2 separate regions of the Homo sapiens genome follow, and region 2 is linked to region 1. Evidence: promoter capture Hi-C in 16 types of primary human blood cells and fetal thymus (Javierre and others, 2016). All regions are on one chromosome and are shown on one strand. Each heading gives the region's core, a stretch centred on a gene start or on the middle of the fragment in contact. The rest is flanking DNA. Distances are from core to core; before and after follow the strand shown. Region 1 holds the start of WASL (WASP like actin nucleation promoting factor). Region 2 has its middle 3.7 kb from the start of TPK1.

Region 1 (4,126 bases), core at 1,139-3,638:
TTCCTGTCTTCAAAATAGTTTGGTGGTCTACAAGTTCTAAAAGCTGGTATTTCTAACATAAAATTTGCTAATCTTTCAGTTTTTATTAAATTAGAAGCTAATAGGATTCTATCTCTGGATTTACAGTTTTAAAAAGTTTTATTTTGGCATACTGGGATATATGTAGCCTATTTGATATAATATATGGCCTAATCAGAAATTCTGCTATCAAGTTCTTCACTATATTTTTGAAAAAATATGTACAATTGTATATTTGAAGGACAGTTTTTGAAGAGTCAGAATTAGAACAAAGGTAAGAATACATATATTAAGTCTTGATCCCTTAGCTCAGGGAAAGCAGAAAAGACCATAGGCAAGGACTGTCAATGGCCGACAACTAATACTTGAGTAACCACTATGTATCAGGTACTTTACATGTGATACCTTTTTTTAATGTCTTATAATTTTAGTTTAAAAAAATTTTAATACACAATAACTGTACATATTTATGGGGGTACATAGTGATGTTGCAATACATATAACATATAGTGATTAGGGTAATTAGCATATCTATCATCTCAAAAACTTATGTCTTTGTTTTGGGAACATGCAATATCCTTCTTCTAGCTATTTGAAACTATACAATATTGTTAACTATAGTCATCCTACAGTGCTACAGAACACTAGAACTTATACCTCCTATCTAGTTGTAATTGTGTATTTTACAACTTTGAAGTAGGTGTAATTATCCCTATTTAGACTATACCTGTATGAAACAGAAATTATTTTCATTTTACAGATGAGGAAACAGACGCAGAGAAGTAATTTGTCCAAAGTCCATAGGGTTGTAAGACTCATAACAAGAACTACAACTTGGGCCTATCTGAATCTTATACTTCTGGTACTATACTTGTTCACAGGTTTGAAAAGAGCTTTAATTTCTATTATTTCTCAAGAATTTGTAATGCTTTCTCTTGTCACTGTGCTTTCAACTTAGAGGAGTTGCAGTTTTGATAAAAGACAAACTGATTTAGCTTCTAGGTTTGTTAAATATGTAATTCAGAGGCAACTCCAGGCTTATATTTCTACGACTGCTTTCTAAATCTAATTATTTTATAAATAGTCCTGTTGCTTTAATTCACTTTTTACCCTAACATAATTAATCAAGTTTAACTTTGAAATCTCCATATTTTATGTGAGAACTCCCAAGGCTATCCACTTTTATTTTCCTTTGTAAATTTATTGTTGCTCAGCCTATTTCATTAATGGCAGCTTTAATTATAATATTTTATTATATTTTCAAAGTGCATGATAATGGTTTACCAGTCTGGTTAGTACATCAGAGATTTCTATTGGGAGCTATCAGAGATGTTAACATCCAACAATTTTACCAAAGTGTAATTGTTATAGACGTCTTAACATGAATTTACGCAACAAAAATATGTTTAATGTGGAGAACAGTGAGATGCATATTTGATAATTCACTGCAGTCTGCATCATCATCTCTATATTCCAAAATTTCGTCTTAAGCCGTTTAGTATTTAACTTACAGAAGAAAGGGGGTTATCTTAGATAACTTTTAATATCCTAAGGTATTTTCCAATTCACGATACAGGGAGAAAAGAAATGTGTCCAGGCCCTTAGAAGAAAATACTTTGAATTTAAATGTGACACATACATTAAACCCGCGTGACACGCCAGGCAGGCGGTGGAAGTCAAGTGCATTTGTTTTTGTTTCATCCACCAGGGCGATCTCTTTCACAATTCTGGGAGAGGCCTGTTTGTTCCTCCACTCCCACAGCTGAAGTTTGGGACAAAGTTTGAGAAAATCCCAGGCACCTGCGGCTCCTATCGAAGCCGGCGAGGAGCACAGGGTAGAGCGTCTCTTCCCAGTTTTCAGTCTTCAGATCGCAGGCCTCTCGGACCCGCAGAGCGAGCTTCACGCTGCAGCGCTTGAGAAATAAGAGCTATTCCAAGGAGGGGCCCTGGGTCCTCACTGACGCTTCGCAAAGGTGTACGTCCGCCCAGGGAAGGCCGGCGGCGCAGCGACGGCGAGGAGTCCCCATCCATCTTCTCTTCAAGCAGCAGTAGCTGGGTTCGGGTACCCAACCGACGAGCCGAGACGCCAGAGGCCAGAGTACGAAGTTGGAAGCCTGCGCCCCAAGCCAACCGGGATTCCACTTAGCTCCGCGCGGTCCGCGCCTCGGCCGGAAGGGGGCGTGGCTTCGGGCCCGCGCCGCGAGGCCCGCCGCCGAGTGGGGGGGTTTCTCCCGGGCCGCAGCCGCGCGTTTCCGGCGCGCTCCCCCGCGCCCTCCGTCCTGTGGTCTCGCCCGCCCCCGCTGCCATGTTGGATTGTGCGGCCGCCGCCGCCGCTGCGGGAGGGTTGGGGGAGGAGTTGGGAGTTTAGCGCAGTCGCCGGAGTGCGAGGACAACGACCATCCGGCCCTAGCCTGGCCGGGCGGGTGCCGGGAGCTTCCCTTTCTCAGCGCGGCGCGAAGGTGGCTCGCCGTCAGCGCCTGCTTCCCTCGACCTCGTCCTCCTCCCCGCTCCGGAGGAGCTGCGAGATGTGGCGCCTCTGACTCCACTTCTCCCCGCCCCTGTCACCGAGAGGGGGAACGAGCTCTCGCCCACTCGCCGGAGGAGACGGCCCTGGACTCCCAACCCCGCCGGCGAAACCATGAGCTCCGTCCAGCAGCAGCCGCCGCCGCCGCGGAGGGTCACCAACGTGGGGTCCCTGTTGCTCACCCCGCAGGAGAACGAGTCCCTCTTCACTTTCCTCGGCAAGAAATGTGTGGTCAGTGGACGAGACCCGCGTCGCCACCCGTGACATTACCTCACGGGCCCGGGCTTGGGGGCCGGGAAGTGGGAGTGGGGAAGGAGGCGGGAGCGGCGCGGGCCAGGCCTCCCGCCAGCCCCGGCCCCGGCCCCGGCCCCTCGTCGGCGCCCTCGCCCTGCTCCCAGGGTGCGGGCCGTGGCGGTCGGGCGCCGCCTTCCCGAGCTGCTGGAGAATAAGGGAGTGTCACCTCCGCAGGCCTGTCCTCCAGCCTGGCCGGGCCTCGGCCCGCGCCCTTGCTGCTGGTTAAAACTTTATTCTCAGGCCACAAGGGGATTTTCTTGCAAGAGCCGCTTGGTCCTAGAATCTGGGCCCTTGTTCTAGCTCTCGCTTCACCTCTTACTGCTTGATCTGGGGGTACGTTCCTTAACAATGCCAGGTTTGAGGAGTGGATAGGTCGGGGAAGGAAGGTGGTTTTTAATCTCCCATTAGGATTCCAGGAGGGAATGAAGTCGAGTGCAAGAGCCTGGGCTCTCTTCGGATTAGAGAGGGTGCAAGAAATGTTATTGCTCTTCGTTAAAGAGAAACAAGATTTATTTCTCTAGCAACCTTGCCTAGGCCTGGTTTCTACTCTCCTTCCCACTGATTTTTTTTTTCCCCCCATTGGTGGGAGGGGGTGCTGCTCTCCCCGCAGCCATGCGCAGGGAAACCTCAATCTCTGGTAGCTCTTGGCTTTTGGGGCCGAGAATGATTCTTAGTTTGGTGCTGTGCGGCCAATTCCAACCCCAGATGGCCGGTTGGGAGCGAGCAGTTCTGCTGTGGGAAGGGGAATGTGTGTTGTTGACGGAAGCATTCATTACATTGGCTGCTGGCAATTCTGGGGGTGGGGAGGTTCTGCTCTGTGGTGTAGGCCTTGTCGGGATCATACTGCGGTGACTGGGTTGAAGTGTGGTTTGTTGAAATACTGGCTGGATCCCTTTCTCTCCACTTTGCTAGCACCTGCAGAGTATGTGCCACTGGAACCCAGAAAACACGGAAATTTCAACAAAGCAATACCATTTTATAACTCCTTTAAGTAATATTAGGTATGCCAAACCAGATTTCACCTGCTTCTTTAAGAAGTTAGGATTAGACAATTTCTGGAAAGTTATTGGATTCATTGTTAACTTCATAGGAGTCCACCCTTTGTATCTTGTGCCATCCGGTTGGAGATTGAATCGTTCCATTCAATTTCAGATGTGTTTCATATTTCGGAATTTAGACCTTAGAGAACATTGAGTTTCCTGATTAGAAGGATGAAACAAGAGGAGTGGCTCAAAACGAGAATTTTGGGTAACAACTTTAAGCCCCTCCCCATTCACACACACTTTTTTC
Region 2 (4,099 bases), core at 699-3,198, about 21 Mb before region 1:
TCTTCTGAGGAACGCAAGTAAAGAAGCTGCTTGGGCTAGGCGCAGTGGCCCATGCCTGTAATCCCAGCACTTTGGGATTACAGTACCCAGGTGGGTGGAGTGCTTGAGCTCACGATCTGAGGCCAGCTGGGCAACATGGCGAAACCCTGTCTCTACAAAAAATACAAAAATGATCTGGGTGTGGTAGTGCACACCTGTAGTCCCAGCTACTCAGGAGGCTGAGGTGGGAGGATCACTTGAGCCTGGACAGCAGTGGTTGCAGTGAGCCAAGATTGTGCCACTGCACTCTAGCCTGGGCAACTACAGGATAGTGTTAAGGTACTGTGATTCTCCTGCCTCAGCCTACCGAGTAGCTGGGATTACAGGTGCACACCACCACACCCATCTAATTTTTTGTATTTTTAGTAGAGACAGGGTTTCACTATGTTGGCCAGACTGGTCTTGAACTCCTGACCTCATGATCCGCCCTCCTCGGCCTCCCACGGTGCTGGGATTACAGACGTGAGCCACCGCGCCCAGCCCTAAAATAATTTTTTTATTTTTTGAGACGGAATCTCGCTCTGTCGCCCAGGCTGGAGTGCAGTGGTGCAATCTCGGCTCACTGCAAGCTCCGCCTCCCGGGTTCACGCCATTCTCCTGCCTCAGCCTCTTGAGTAGCTGGGACTACAGGCGCTTGCCACCGTGCCCGGCTAATTTTTTGTATTTTTAGTAGAGACGGAGTTTCACTTTGTTAGCCAGGATGGTCTCGATCTCCTGACCTTGTGATCCACCTGCCTCAGCCTCCCAAAATGCTGGGATTTCAGGTGTGAGCCACCATGCCCGGCCGCCCTAAGGTAATTTTTATATGCACTAGGAAACCCCAAAATTTGTGCAGCTTACTTAATTGTGGTATCTGGAATCAAACCCACAGTATTTCCAAGTCATGGCTGTATTAAAAAGAATGAGCTAGATAAATATGGCATCATGTGGAAAAATGTCCACAACAGAGTAAATTTTGTAAATGTAAATGGTAGAATAGTCTCACTTCTGTTTTTGATGATTCATAGAAAATGGATTTGGAAAGTCATAGAAACTGAATTGTTAAAATGACCTCTGAGAAAAAGGGGTGTAGTAGGTAGGAGCCAGTAGGGTGAGAGTGATATCAATTTTTATTTTATGTACTTTTTTTATTACATTAATACATATTTTTTCAATAAGTATATTAAAGAAGTTTAAGATGTTTATAAAAATGTATATTAAAAGAAATTTAATGAGCAATTATTGTTAACCTTTAGTATATTTGGGGCTTCCAAGGAAAGCAGAATAAATATAAGCATGCATGCATACATACATACATGGAACAATTTTCAGGGGAGAGGTTCCAAATCTTCAAACAAATTTTCAATTGATTCTATGATCCCAAAAAGGTTAATACTGATGGTAAACAGGTCCACAGTATGACTCCACAAAGTAGGAAGGAACTCCAAGTAGTAAGTTACATAGTTTTCTCCAGGATACAAAGAAGGCTCTTCTGTCTTCCTCACCAAATATTCTGTGGCTCTACCCTCATTTTCTTGTACTGGTGGTGTTCAAAATATATGGTATATTGGCCAGGTGTGGTGGCTCACACCTGTAATCTCACCACTTTGGGAGGCATGGGTGGATTTCTTGAGGCCAGGAGTTTGAGACCAGCCTGGCCAACATGGTGAAACCCCATCTCTACTAAAATTACAAAAGTTAGCCAGGCATGTTGGCACACATCTGTAGTCCCAGCTACTCAGGAGGCTGAGGCATGAGAATCACTGGAACCTAAGAGGCAGAGGTTGCCGTGAGCAAAGATCATGAGATTGCAGCAATTCAGTTCCATCTTCAGGCGCCACTTCTAATTCTAGTTCTCTTGCTATTTCTACCACATCTGCAGTTATTTCCTCTACTGAAGTCTTGAGCCTCTCAAAGTCAGCCATGAGGATTGGAATCAACTTCTTCCAAACTTCTATTAATTTGGATATTTTGACCTCCTCCCATGAATCATGAATGTTCTTAATGGTATCTAGAATGGCAAATTCTTTCTAGAAGGTTTCCAATGTACTGTACCCAGATCCATCAGAGGAATCACTATCTATGGCACCACAGCATTACAAAATGTGTTTTTTAAATGATAAGACTTGAAAGTAGAAATCACTCCTTGATCCATGGTCTGCAGAATGGATGTGTTAGCAGGCATGAAATCATTAATCTCCATCAGAGTTTTTGGGTGACCAGGTGCACTATTAATGAACAGTAATATTTGTAAAGGATTTTTTTTTTCTGAGCAGTAAAATAGTGGGTTTAAAATATTCAGTAAACCATGTTGTAAACAGATGTGTTGCCATTCAGGCTTCGTTGTTCCATTTCTAGATACAGGCAGAGTAGATTTAGAATAATTCTTTTTTTTTTTTTTTTTTTTTTTTTGAGACGGAGTCTCTCTCTGTCACCCAGGCTGGAGTGCAGGCCCAATTTCAGCTCACTGAAACCTCCACCTCCCAGGTTGAAGCGATTCTCCTGCCTCAGCCTCCTGAGTAGCTGAGATTACAGGCACCTGCCACTATGCCCAGCTAATTTTTGTATTTTTAGTAGAGACAAGGGTTCATCATGTTGGTCAGGCTGGTCTCGAACTCCTGACCTCGTGATCTGCATGAGCCACCGTGCCTGGCCAGATTTAGCATAATTCTTAAGGGCCCTAGGATTTTCAAAATGGTAAACAAGCACTGGCTCCAACTGACAACCACCAGCTACATTAGGCCTTAACAAGTGAGTCAGCCTGGCCTTTGAAACTTTGAAGCCAAGTATTGACTTTTCCTCTCTAGCTATCAAAGTCTTAGATGTCATCTTCTTCCAATAGAAGGTTGTTTCATCTCCATGAAAAATGGCCACCTTCATCAATGATCTTAGCTAGATTTTCTGGTCAACTTGCTACAGCTTCTTCATCAGTACTTGCAACTTCACCTTGCTCTTTTATGTTACGGAGATGGCTTCTTTCCTTAAACCACATGAACCTCTGCTATCTTCAAACTTTTCTTCTGCAGTTTACTCATTTCTCCCAGACTTTAAGATAATTCAGAATCAGGGCCTTGCTCTGGATCTGGCTTTGGTTCAAGGAAATGTTGTGGCTAACTGGATCTTCTACACGGACCACTCAAACTTTCTTCATAGCAATAAGGCTGTTTATCTTTCTTATCATTCATGTGTTTAGTGGAGTAGCACTTTCAGTTTTCTTAAAGAACTTTTGCTTTGCATTCACAACTTGGCTAACTGATACAAAAAGCCTAGCTTTCTTTTGACAAAACTTTCTCACTAATCTTGATCATTTCTAGCTTTTGATTTAAAGTGAGACACATGCAGTTCTTCCTTTCACTTAAACACTTAGAGGCCATTGTAGGAATATAAAATGGCCTAATTTCAATACTGTCGTGTCTTAGGGAATAGGGAGGCCCACGGGGAGAGAGAAACAGGAGAATGTACTGGTCCCGGGGCAGTAAGAAACACACAACATTGATCTATTAAGTTTGCCGTCTTATAAGGGCATGGCTGGTGGCACCCCAAAACAATGACAAGAGTAACATTAAGAATCACTAATCACAGATTGTAATGAATATATTAATGGAAATATTTGAAGTATTGTGAAAATTACCAAAATATGACGCAGAGACACGAAGCAGGTACACGCTTTCGGAAAAATGTTGCAGATAGACCTGCTTGATGCAGGCTTGCCACAAACTTTCAATTTGTAAAAGCGGTATCTGTAAAGCACAATAAAGCTAAACACAATAAAAGGAGGTATGCCTGTAATTCCTGGTATGAAGTACCATAATTCTCCATTTTTTTCCCATTATTTGTTAATTTATTTCACATTTACTGAACTTATCTTGGTGAGACACACTGTGTGGCTGGAGAAATAGCAGGGAAGGAAATAGACAAGGCTCCTGCCCTTAGAGAGCTAGCTCTCTAGTAGGGGGAGACAAATCATTAACAAGTAAACTGTGCTAGAGTGAGGATTCAAGGGCCAACAACTAAATTTTGGTCCTTGTTTTCCTGGAGCCTACATTTTAGGGTAATTAAATAAAATATAAAAGACCTCAAC

What was found. Contacts are between HindIII fragments. The CHiCAGO score rates a contact against its expected background, and 5 or more counts as called.
Region 2: a fragment that was not itself captured here is called in contact with the fragment with the promoter of WASL in region 1 in 1 of 17 cell types (monocytes); the score reaches 5.1 in monocytes.

What each region holds. Positions count from the first base shown.
Region 1 is chr7:123,747,265-123,751,390 of GRCh38, reverse strand. It overlaps WASL (WASP like actin nucleation promoting factor), which reads left to right and starts at 2,388. Exons shown (of 11, transcript NM_003941.4): 1 at 2,388-2,773. The coding sequence starts at 2,657. It overlaps WASL-DT (WASL divergent transcript), which reads right to left and starts at 2,196. Exons shown (of 1, transcript NR_170281.1): 1 at 410-2,196. RefSeq lists silencers at 2,106-2,425, 2,886-2,975 and enhancers at 2,004-2,658, 3,418-3,467. The HindIII fragment of the contact is 6,394 bases long and covers 1-4,126 here.
Region 2 is chr7:144,837,746-144,841,844 of GRCh38, reverse strand. No RefSeq gene overlaps it. Among named protein-coding and RNA genes, the nearest start is that of TPK1, 3.7 kb to the right of the region's middle. The HindIII fragment of the contact is 5,943 bases long and covers 1-4,099 here.